Linked DNA regions of Homo sapiens: region 2 is linked to region 1. Evidence: promoter capture Hi-C in human tissues and cell types (Jung and others, 2019). All regions are on one chromosome and are shown on one strand. Each heading gives the region's core, a stretch centred on a gene start or on the middle of the fragment in contact. The rest is flanking DNA. Distances are from core to core; before and after follow the strand shown. Region 1 holds the start of IGIP (IgA inducing protein). Region 2 overlaps UBE2D2 (ubiquitin conjugating enzyme E2 D2).

Region 1 (5,193 bases), core at 414-2,913:
ACACACCTCATACTTAAAACCAAGTGAGAGGCCTCTTTTCAGATCTGGTTTATTTTTGGAATGCCTGAGTGTGTTTCCAGATTGGGGGGGGAGAGGTGGTGTTTTACTTTTTGACATGCTCTTAGCATGTTTTGCTAGTCATTCTGGATCTTATGTTTGCAAATTCTGTTGAACATTCAGTGATGTATTTGAAATGAGAAAGTCCTTTATAACATAGTGTGAATGTTTGTGGCCAATTCAATTGTGGAATCTTATGGCTTTGTTTTTACTTTGGGTAGAAGTTTAACTTCCATTGTTCAGATTTTAGGTTTATCTAGTGAAATTGTGCCAGGTAGTTGTCTAAATATGGACCAATTTTGGGAAATGAAGATTAATAAGTGTATATTTGATTCTAGATAATCCTTTACTCAAAATCATAAGTTAAAGATTCACATCATTAAGAGTTATCTAACTTTTATGTTGTCAAATCTTTAAATGTGGATGATATTCAGCATTCTATCTATGAATTTCCTTTAGGAAAAGAGAAAAATTCAGTCTCCAAACCTTTTCTTGGAGACAAAATTTACCACATATCGAAAATGAAAAAAATTTAGAAAGCGATTTGATTATTTTTTAATGGAGTTTAACCAGCTTAATTAATGATTTTTCCAGTTTGAAGCACTTATTTTCCCAATGTGAATAAAGGGAAAAGATCAGCAATTTGTCCCTGGCCTTTTTCGAGGCCATTTTTAGTTTTCTGCCCCCATTTCCCAGTCCTGGTATAAAATGAATTACGGGTATCCCTCTAAGTCCCTATAACCCTTTTTGGGGGTCACAGATATCTTTGATAATCTGATGACAGTGTGATGGATCCTCTACCCAAGAAAAAAAAAATGCCCATCCCTGGATAATTTTGCATACAACTTCAGGGGCATCACACATCTTCTGAAACCCAAGTTAAAGATCTCTGCTCTAAGTAAATTGTAGAGAATTTTAGTGCAAATCGTTGATAAAATTAGGAACCAACTATTGGCTTAAAACCTTTCATATTGGAATTATTGTTAGATGGTGGCCCCTACTAGCAAAATGTGACATTGCAACCAGCTTCGTTAGACATTATAACAACCAGAGAGAAGGGAAAAAAGCAAAGTTCTGAAAGCTATTTATAAGGAGTCAGGGCATCTCTAGACATGGGAGCCTTCCTGGTTCAAGGCAGGGGTCAGGGTGCCTGACAATTTCTAGCAGGGTAGAGTTTGATAAACCACAATGCTCAGGATGCCAAGGGGTTAGCCATTATCTTAACCCCTTCCTCACCAAAAGATTTTAGTTTTGTCTGTTGGGAAACAAGATGTCACTAGGGAAAAAAAGATTTGCCTTACAACTTTGCTGGAACACATCAGTTTGGTGACGTTGGGACACTAGTGTTATTTTTGAGAAGGCGCATAAAACCAAAGTAAATTATTCTCTATGTAGAACATTTATTTACTAGTAACATTTGTTTGCGTGTATTCGCTTTGACAATTTTTACCAGTAAATATTGGTTTTATTTAAAACTGGGAATCCAGTTGATATATAGGATAGTTGATACATCTGTTCTTTCCCCCATGTAAAGCATAGTTAAAAGATTTATGCATACTTTTTACTTTTCTCTCTTAATGCCATGGGGTGGGGAGGGTGGGTGGGGGAAAGATTTTTGAGTCTACAACTGACAAAATGTCTTCTTCAAATTAAAAAAAATTGAGAAGCAGCACTTTAAGTCTAACTCTACACCATTTTATTGCATGTATTAGTTTTATTAATGATTTTTGGTGCATGCCTTTGGGCTTATTCAAAAGTGTACAATAGGAAAGTATATTTCCTTTCTTAGAAAGGAGATGTTTTCTACTTTGCAACATGTGATTACAAAAATCTTCCTCTGTGGGAAGATTAACCATGTATTGAACTACTGAAAAGTATATATTTTTAGATATACAGAAGGAATCTACATGGAGCAGCATTCAGACCTATATAGAAGTCATAGCATTCTGTATAGGACCAAAAAGGAAATAACATTAAACACTTAAACAGACGTTGTTGGGTAGAAATACCTTTAGATCTTGCATTTACTTCCAAAAAGAAAAAATGCCACAGAAGTTTGCTGAAAACTTTTGTCGTTTGAATTTTCTCTGTCAGTGTATTTAGCCCAAATACAACAGCTTTGGGTTAGCACACACATAAGAATCAAAAAAACAAAGCTCACTAAATAAATCAGTCTGGTTTGCCAATCCAGCTTGACTGAAATAAGTAAACCAATCACTTGCAACATGAAAAACTGTCCAACTCCTCTAAGGTTCTGACAAAATAACCTTGGCTGATGTGGGAAGACTCCCACTTTGATTACTGACCTGACAGTGAAGATTCATGCTTGACATGATTTCAGACTTGACAATGTCTGTTTAAGGAGCTATGGTACAGTTTGCTAATTCAATCCCAGATACCTGTTGATTACCTGTGAGATCTAGAGTCCAAAGTAGCCAGCAGCCATATCCCTGAGTGCTCTGTGCCCATCAGATATCTTAAAGTAAGCAGGGTTGGGACAGGTCACAGCTTGGATGATTGACCTCAGGTGCCGTAGACAGCCCCAGATTCAAGAATTGTATCTGCTTTCTTGGCAGTCGTCACTGAACTAATGTCCCATACTGTGTTACTTACTGTAGATGCTCTCTTTTAGAGGAGGCCCAGAGCACACATCCTAATCGCTAGCGGTACTCAGAGAGGGGGTGCTAACTCTGATGCCCTGGCCAAATTCCAGTTTAGGGATGTGGGTCTTCTTCTTGTCATTCTAATTGGAAATGTGCATCACTTCCCATTTTTCTTACTGATCTCAGTGCAAACTACACTAGTCTGTTTCTTTGCCCTGGTCTCAAGTCTCTAAGACGCTGGTGTGTATTATGTGGGCTAAGTTCATGTGTTATCCTAAGGCACAAGAGTTGAGGAATGGGTGAGCTTGGTGTCAGAGCACTGTGTGGTTGGAGGGTGGACTCTTGTGATGCTGTGGGGATGAAATTGGCCCTCTTTTAGCATAAGTTGGGGAGTGTGCACTGGCTGGAGGCTTCCAGAGGCTTCCAGCCATGAGGTGTGAGCTGAAACCAATTTTTCCTCTTTCCTTATAGCATGTTGAGAAAATCTGTTGGGTTTTCAGCAGTCAGGGAAGGCCGGAGTTCTGCTTTAATCTGGGTAACTGAGGCTAATATGAGCAAGACTTTGGTTAATTAACTGGGTTCTCAGATGCCACAGACTCCGTGAGAAGTCACCATTATTTTCAATGGTTGTGATAGAATTTCCCCCAGTAGCCATTATTTTAAGATTATATTGCAGAGTTGCTTTATTTTGAGCTTTTTGTGTATACACAATCCCAAACTGGAAGAAATTTTAAAAAAAGGAATCCTGCTGTGAAAGGTATATATTACTCTAGATTTTTCTTACTGTAAATATTGTAAGATTGTAATACTGTCGATATTTTATTAACCAACAAATGTTAATCTATGTGAAATCAGACTTATTTTAAATGTGCTTCTTATTTACTGTGTGTGGTCCCTGTTGCTGACAGTATTAAGTTATATTCTGATGTAAGATTAACTTTATTAAAGAATGTAAACATTAATGTTTCCTTATGGGAAAACAAATAAAGTATAAAGAAGACAATTCTTTTCATTGAAATATACTGTGTATTTACACTTGCTAGACCCAGCACCACTTATAAATTTAGTACACTGTTCAGAATTTTAGTTAACACAGCTGACATGGTTGTGCTCTGTTTGAAAGTCTAAGAATAGGTATTGTTGGAATATACAGTTTGTATTTGTCTGCTGTGAATCATAATCTTGAAATTTCTAATCAAGTTTGTAAAATTTTTATAGTGAAACATTTTAATGACAATTTAAAAATTTATCTTCTCTAAAGAATGGTCAAAACAATATCCTTTCAGAAATAGAATTGTTCTTTAATATCTTTCCAAAATGACTTTGGTTAAATGGACCAGATGTATATTAGTTAAAATTTAGGACTAAGTTGTTGATATTCTTTGAGTTTACAAGTTAATCCTTATTGGAGATGTGCCAATATACAGTTAGAATATCATTAATTTGCACTGTTTGGGGACCCCATTTAAGAATGCTGAATTTTGCCAACTAAGAAGTAAGCAAATGCAATTTAAAAAGTAAATTTGAGCATTCTGTATTAAATATGTGCAGTTATTATCACATGAAGAAACGCAGTGTGTCGGGCTGTAATATTACCATATTTGCTGTCATGTTCTCCCATCTCAGTGCTGGGAAATCACCATGTGGAAACCAAGCAAACGTGTTGTGCATCAGCCGGCTTGAGTTTGTTCAATATCAAAGCTGAAAACTAGCGAGGTCTGCTGTACTGCTTATTGAAGTATTGTGATTATTTTAGGCATTGATTCTTACAAAATATATACTGTAACAGTATACTTTGTACAGATTTAAATTTTATTTGAAAAAATGAAATAAAGTAGGCAAAAAAATAAAGATGTTTATTTTTCATGTGACTGTATAATCAGATCAGTCTTTTGTTTCAGTGCTTTTTGGGGGAAGGGGTCTGGTTGCGATCTTGGATTTTTTTTTTTTTTGATAGGTGGAAACTTTTTAGGACTCAGTAGCAGGTATACTTATGCTTATGAATTGGCTGCAAGCATTAAGTGTGCTCTCATACTAGAGAACTCTATCTTCTATTTTATTTTAAGGTAGGTTTGCTTATTTTTAAAAATGTTATGTGAATGGCCTCCCTATCCTGGCATACTGGGTCATTTAAAAAATTCTCTGGTGGTATGACAGTGAACCTAGCCATCATGTTGAAGAGAAGGGAAACCTTTTCCCAAAGATCATGCTCCATTCTCATGGAAGGTTTTTTGTTTTCTGTCAGTTACAATAAAAAAAATGTAATTATCATGGATACATACTAGTTATACATACTTATGGGGTACATGTAACATTTTGAAACAAGCGTACAATGTACTGATTAAATCAGGATGATTGGGGTATCCATCACCTGAAGTATGTATAATTTCTTCGTTTTAGGAACATTCTAATTCCACTCTTAGTTATTTGAAATATATAATAAATTATTTTTAATAGTTGCCCTATTGTGCTGTTGAACACTTAGAAAATAGAGGTTGCGGTTTAAAATCTCTTTCAAAACTGTTTTTCTAGT
Region 2 (5,078 bases), core at 1,755-4,254, 500 kb before region 1:
ATGTTTCTCTCAACCCTTTGCTTTGATCCTCTGCTAATTTATATGATTTTTTTCATTCTAGTACTCTTGTCCATCTGTTCTCTGTTGTGTGATCCCAATCCAGATGATCCTTTAGTGCCTGAGATTGCTCGGATCTACAAAACAGATAGAGAAAAGTAAGTATGGCCTCAAGATGGAAAGTTATCTGTGGTGGGATGGAGATGTTTGTCACAAATCTTTCTTGTTTAAGGGCTGAATATCGGCCAGATATTTAAAGTGAAGTCCTAATATACTCTCCTGGGGCTAGAAAAGAGAAATATATGCATTGAGTATTATTATAAGTAGATGATGCCAGTCTTATCCCTGATTGTTTCACGTGACTCCTCTTGTCTACAAAAACTTTTTTTTTTGTTTGTTTTTTTTTGAGACAGGGTCTTACTCTGTCACCCAGGCTAGAGTGCAATGGTGCAGTCTTGGCTCACTGCAACCTCCGCCTCCTGGGTTCAAGTGATTCTCATGCCTCAGCCTCCCGAGTAGATGGGATTACAGGCGCAGGCCACCACGCCAGGTTCGTTTTTTTTGTAGTTTTAGTAGAGACTTTTACCATGTTGGCCAGGCTGGTTTCGAACTCCTGACCTCAAATGATCTGCCTGCCTAGGCCTCCCAAAGTGCTGGGATTACAGGTGTGAGCCACCACACCCATACAAAAACTTTCCTATGGTATATTTTTCAACAGCTTAATGCCTTATGCTTGGCTTTTGATATATAAAGCACTTTTCATCAAGTGCCCATTTGCCTGCCATAGGTATTTGTCAATTAATGGGAAAAGAGAATTGATTTCCTACCATTTGACATAATCTAAAGGAAGAAAGCAAATAAATGCCATTAGACGTGAAAGCCCCAAATTTCTTTTAAAAACAAAACTTGATGTAGAATTTGGGTATTTTAGAATTGTACTATGAATTATTGAACAGTGGTCAAGATATCAAAAGAGATAGTAGCTAAAAGTGTTCTAGTAGCATTTTTTCTTTTCTTTTTTTCTTTTGAGATGGAGTCTTGCTGTGTTGCCTGGGTTGGTCTCAAACTCCCTACCTCAGCCTCTGGAGTAGCTAGGATTATAAGCATGCCCACCATGCCCAGCACTAATAACATCTGTTTTATGTAGTATTCAGTGAAGTTATAAGAGGAACTAGATAGGAGAGGGTGGATAGTTCTTTTAGGGCCGGGCGCAGTGGCTCACGCCTGTAACCCCAGCACTTTGGGAGGCTGAGGTGGGCAGATCACAAGGTCAGGAGTTTGAGACCAGCCTGGCCAACGGGGTGAAACCCCGTCTCTACTAAAAATACAAAAATTAGCCGGGCATGGTGGCGGGCACCTGTAATCGCAGCTACTCGAGAGGCTGAGATAATTGCTTAAACTCAGGACGTTTAGGTTGCGGTGAGCTGAAATTGCACCACTGCACTTCAGCCTGGGCGACAGAGCAAGACTCACGTCTCCAACTTGAGTTCTAGTGGATTAGAGAGGCATAGATACGTTTTTGTTTTTAGTGGAGGTAACACTGGGAATGGGATATTCTAACAGTAGTTGGTTCTTGCTTTTTCCTATTTGTGAATTTATTGTCAAATTTTTTTGATTAGAGAACTGTTTTGTCCGATATTTAGAATTGTGGGTCTGAATGCTTACCAGAAGTCATTTCCCAAGTCATCATGGAGTAATGTTGAACACTGTTGAACAGAACTTTCCCAAACTGCACTGCCCCCACCCTCTAACCCCCCACTTTTTTTTTTGCAGAGACAGGGTCTTGTTCTTCAGCCCAGACTGGAGTACAGTGGCACAATCGTGGCTCACTGCAGTGTCAAACTCATGGGCTCAAGTGATCCTCCCACCCCAGCCTCCCCAGTAGCTGGGACTGCTAGTACATGCCACTACACCTTTCCAGCCTCCCCAGTAGCTGGGACTGCTAGTACATGCCACTACACCTGGCTAATTTGTTTTTTTTTTTTTTTTTTTGTAGAGACAGGATCTCACTATGTTGCACAGGCTGGTCTCTAATTCCTGGCCTCAAGCAGGCCTTCTGCCTCAGCCCCCCAAAGTGCTGCTGTTACAGGCATGAGTTACCGTGCAAGGCCAGCATACCCACCCCCACCCCCCCCCCTTTTTTTTTTTTTTTTTTTTTGAGGCAGGGTCTTGCTCTGTTGCCCGGACTGGAATGCAGTGGCACAATCACAGCTCACTGTAACCTCAACCTCCCAGGCTCAAGTAGTCCTCCCATCTGAGCTTCCCAAGTAGCTGGGACCACAGGCAGATGCCATCACATCCAGCTAATTTTTTTTTTTTTGAGACAGAGTCTTGCTCCGTTGCCCAGGTGGAATGCAGTGGCACAATCTTGGCTCACTGCAGCCTCTGCCTCCCAGGCTCAAGTGATTCCTGTGCCTCAGCCTCCTGAGTAGCTGGGATTACAGGCGCACATCACCATGCCTGGCTAATTTTTGTGTTTTCAGTAGAGACGGGATTTTGCCATGTTGGCCAGGCTGGTCTGGAACTCCTGACCTCAAGTGATCCAGCTGCTCCAGCCTCCCAAAGTGCTGGGATTACAGGCGTGAGCCACCACACCCGGCCTAGCACCCGTTTTTTAATAGGAGAATTATAGAATCATTTGCTCTGCTTACTTTATTCAAATGTTCTTCTGAAGCAATAAACCCATTCATTTTGTCAACCAAATTGTTGAAATTAGTTCTACCAGAACCAATTGTTTTATTGATATGAAAGGAAAGTTTGGTTTTTTTTCCCCCTTTTTTTTTGAGACAGAGCCTCACTCTGTCACCCAGGCTATGGTACAGTATTGCAATCTCAGCTCACTGCAACCTCTGCCTCCTGAGCTCAAACGATCTTCCCACCTCAGCCTCCTGAGTAGCTGGGACTATAGTCATGCGCCACCACACCCTGCTAATTTTTGTATTTTTTTGTAGAGACAGGGTTTTATCATGTTGCCCAGGCTGGTGTGAAACGCCTGGGCTCAAGTGATCCACCCGACTCAGCCTCCCAAAGTGCTGGGATTACAGGTGTGAGCCAACATGCCCAGCCTTCTGTCGGTTTAATCATTATTAGTATATGAGTTCAAGAACTATGTAATGTAGAATCATATAATTTCAAGTACTTTAAATGAATGAATTGAGTGGACATCTTTTGTAGAAATAGGCCAATCAAGTATGGAATAAGGTATATGCCAACAAATACTAAAATTTAATCAGAACCCTCTATAAGTAGCAATTAAAGGAGACTTTCACATTTTACAGCTCCTTCCCATTATCATTGAATTAATCCTTATCAGAAATTTGGGATAGAAAGGGGCCTTTCCTTGAATGTCCTATAAGCTACTCTCTTCAAGTTACTTGATGGGATAATGAATGGAATCTGTTGCTTACTGACTCCACACCTATGTTAAGCCAAGCTTCTCTTTGTGTGTACAGGTACAACAGAATAGCTCGGGAATGGACTCAGAAGTATGCGATGTAATTAAAGAAATTATTGGATAACCTCTACAAATAAAGATAGGGGAACTCTGAAAGAGAAAGTCCTTTTGATTTCCATTTGACTGCTTTCTATGAGCCCACGCCTCATCTTCCCCTGTGCACATGTTTACCTGATACAGCAGTGCTGCGTGTTGTACATACTTGGAACAACAAACTAGAAATACTGTACTTCTGTACCAACATTGCCTCCTAGCAGAGAAGTGTGTGTGTGACAAGCCAGTTCTACAGGCATTACCTAGGTGTGAGACTAAAAGCTTTTCTTATTGACTTAAATTTGGATAACAGCAAGGTGTGAGGGGGGTGGTGGGTATGGTGTGTGCTTGGATGGGAAAGAAAAGGCTCCACTCACCTATAGGAGATTATTTTTAAGTGGAATCCATTTAAACTCAAAACAGTTATGAAAAGCAAGGTGAAGAACATGAAGCTGTGTCTGTATTCATTTTATTCCGAAGGAGCTACGTCTTAGGTGAAAGTTATGACCAACCAGATTAAACTCTACCCACATCCTGCATTTTAAGGTCTAAGTTTAACTGGTCAACATTTAAATGGATTGGAGCTATTAGTACATCAAGTGTGATGGGCTTTGTTCCCAACTCTTTTACATCTCCCTACCCCTTCAACCTTTGGCCTTTCAGCCCTTCTTTCTCTCTTCCATATTCTTTGGTTTGTATGTGGTTTCTCAGTTAATACATAGCTAATAGCTCTTATTTTTCTTATGTTTTTAACCGCTTAGGTCTATTTGGATGTAAGGGTGAAAATTCATTTGATGGAAATACTTGTGTATATTTAAAGACCCAATTGCTCCTCTGGAGCTTGTACTTTCAAGAATGATTAATCTGTGTAATAAACTGGTTACTACAGTCATTACATATAATTTTGTGTGAATAGGCTTTTTCATTTTTAAGAAGTTTGTCTAGCTGAGATTAGTGGTGGATTTTCTCCCACTTCTGAAATGTTCATTTATACTGGTTGCATTTTAAGATCATGAAACAATTCCAGTTACATTGTAAAAAGGATATCTTACGAGTAATTTTATTGAACAAGTTAGAGGCATAAGCTTAAGAGCATTTCCATGAAACAACACATGCAGCATTCCAGGAACTTGATTGTTAAATTCAATAAGAAATTTGCTTTATTAATGAAACTAAGCTGCATTTCATCAAAACCTTGTGACATTCCCTTGGTACATAGGACATAAAACACAGAGGCATTGCTATTTGGTAAGTTAAGCTTCTGTGATTGTAATTATAAAAGAGCAACATTGACCAAACCTGGGAAACAAGAGCACAGTCTTGTTTGGAGAGTCTACATAATTACTTTGCACTAACATTTGCAGGATGTTCACACAATTTTAAATTGTACTGTATGTGGCTTTTTGAAGTCTTCCCTTGACCCTAGTAAAATATAGCTTGAAACTTGTAAACAACTGTGTTTGCCAGAAACATCATTCATGTGAACTAGGCAAGTTACCTTTTTTCCCCCCTTCTTTTCCTAATTGTAAACTAGGCCAACCTGAAAGCCATGGCTGATGCTCTAGCCATCAGGTTCTTTCAAATGCATCTTTAC

What was found. The method cuts DNA at HindIII sites, captures the fragments that hold promoters and counts their contacts. A contact is called where the count stands out against the background at its distance.
Region 2: a contact is called between a fragment that was not itself captured here and the fragment with the promoter of IGIP in region 1, in 1 of the 25 tissues and cell types used here (hippocampus).

What each region holds. Positions count from the first base shown.
Region 1 is chr5:140,124,274-140,129,466 of GRCh38, forward strand. IGIP (IgA inducing protein) reads left to right here and starts at 1,664. Exons shown (of 1, transcript NM_001007189.2): 1 at 1,664-5,119. The coding sequence starts at 4,204. The coding sequence ends at 4,365. It overlaps PURA (purine rich element binding protein A), which reads left to right. Exons shown (of 1, transcript NM_005859.5): 1 at 1-1,346. The HindIII fragment of the contact is 10,247 bases long and covers 1-5,193 here.
Region 2 is chr5:139,623,307-139,628,384 of GRCh38, forward strand. It overlaps UBE2D2 (ubiquitin conjugating enzyme E2 D2), which reads left to right. Exons shown (of 7, transcript NM_003339.3): 6 at 62-155; 7 at 3,450-5,078. The coding sequence ends at 3,495. Among named protein-coding and RNA genes, the nearest start is that of CXXC5, 23 kb to the right of the region's middle. The HindIII fragment of the contact is 3,301 bases long and covers 1,355-4,655 here.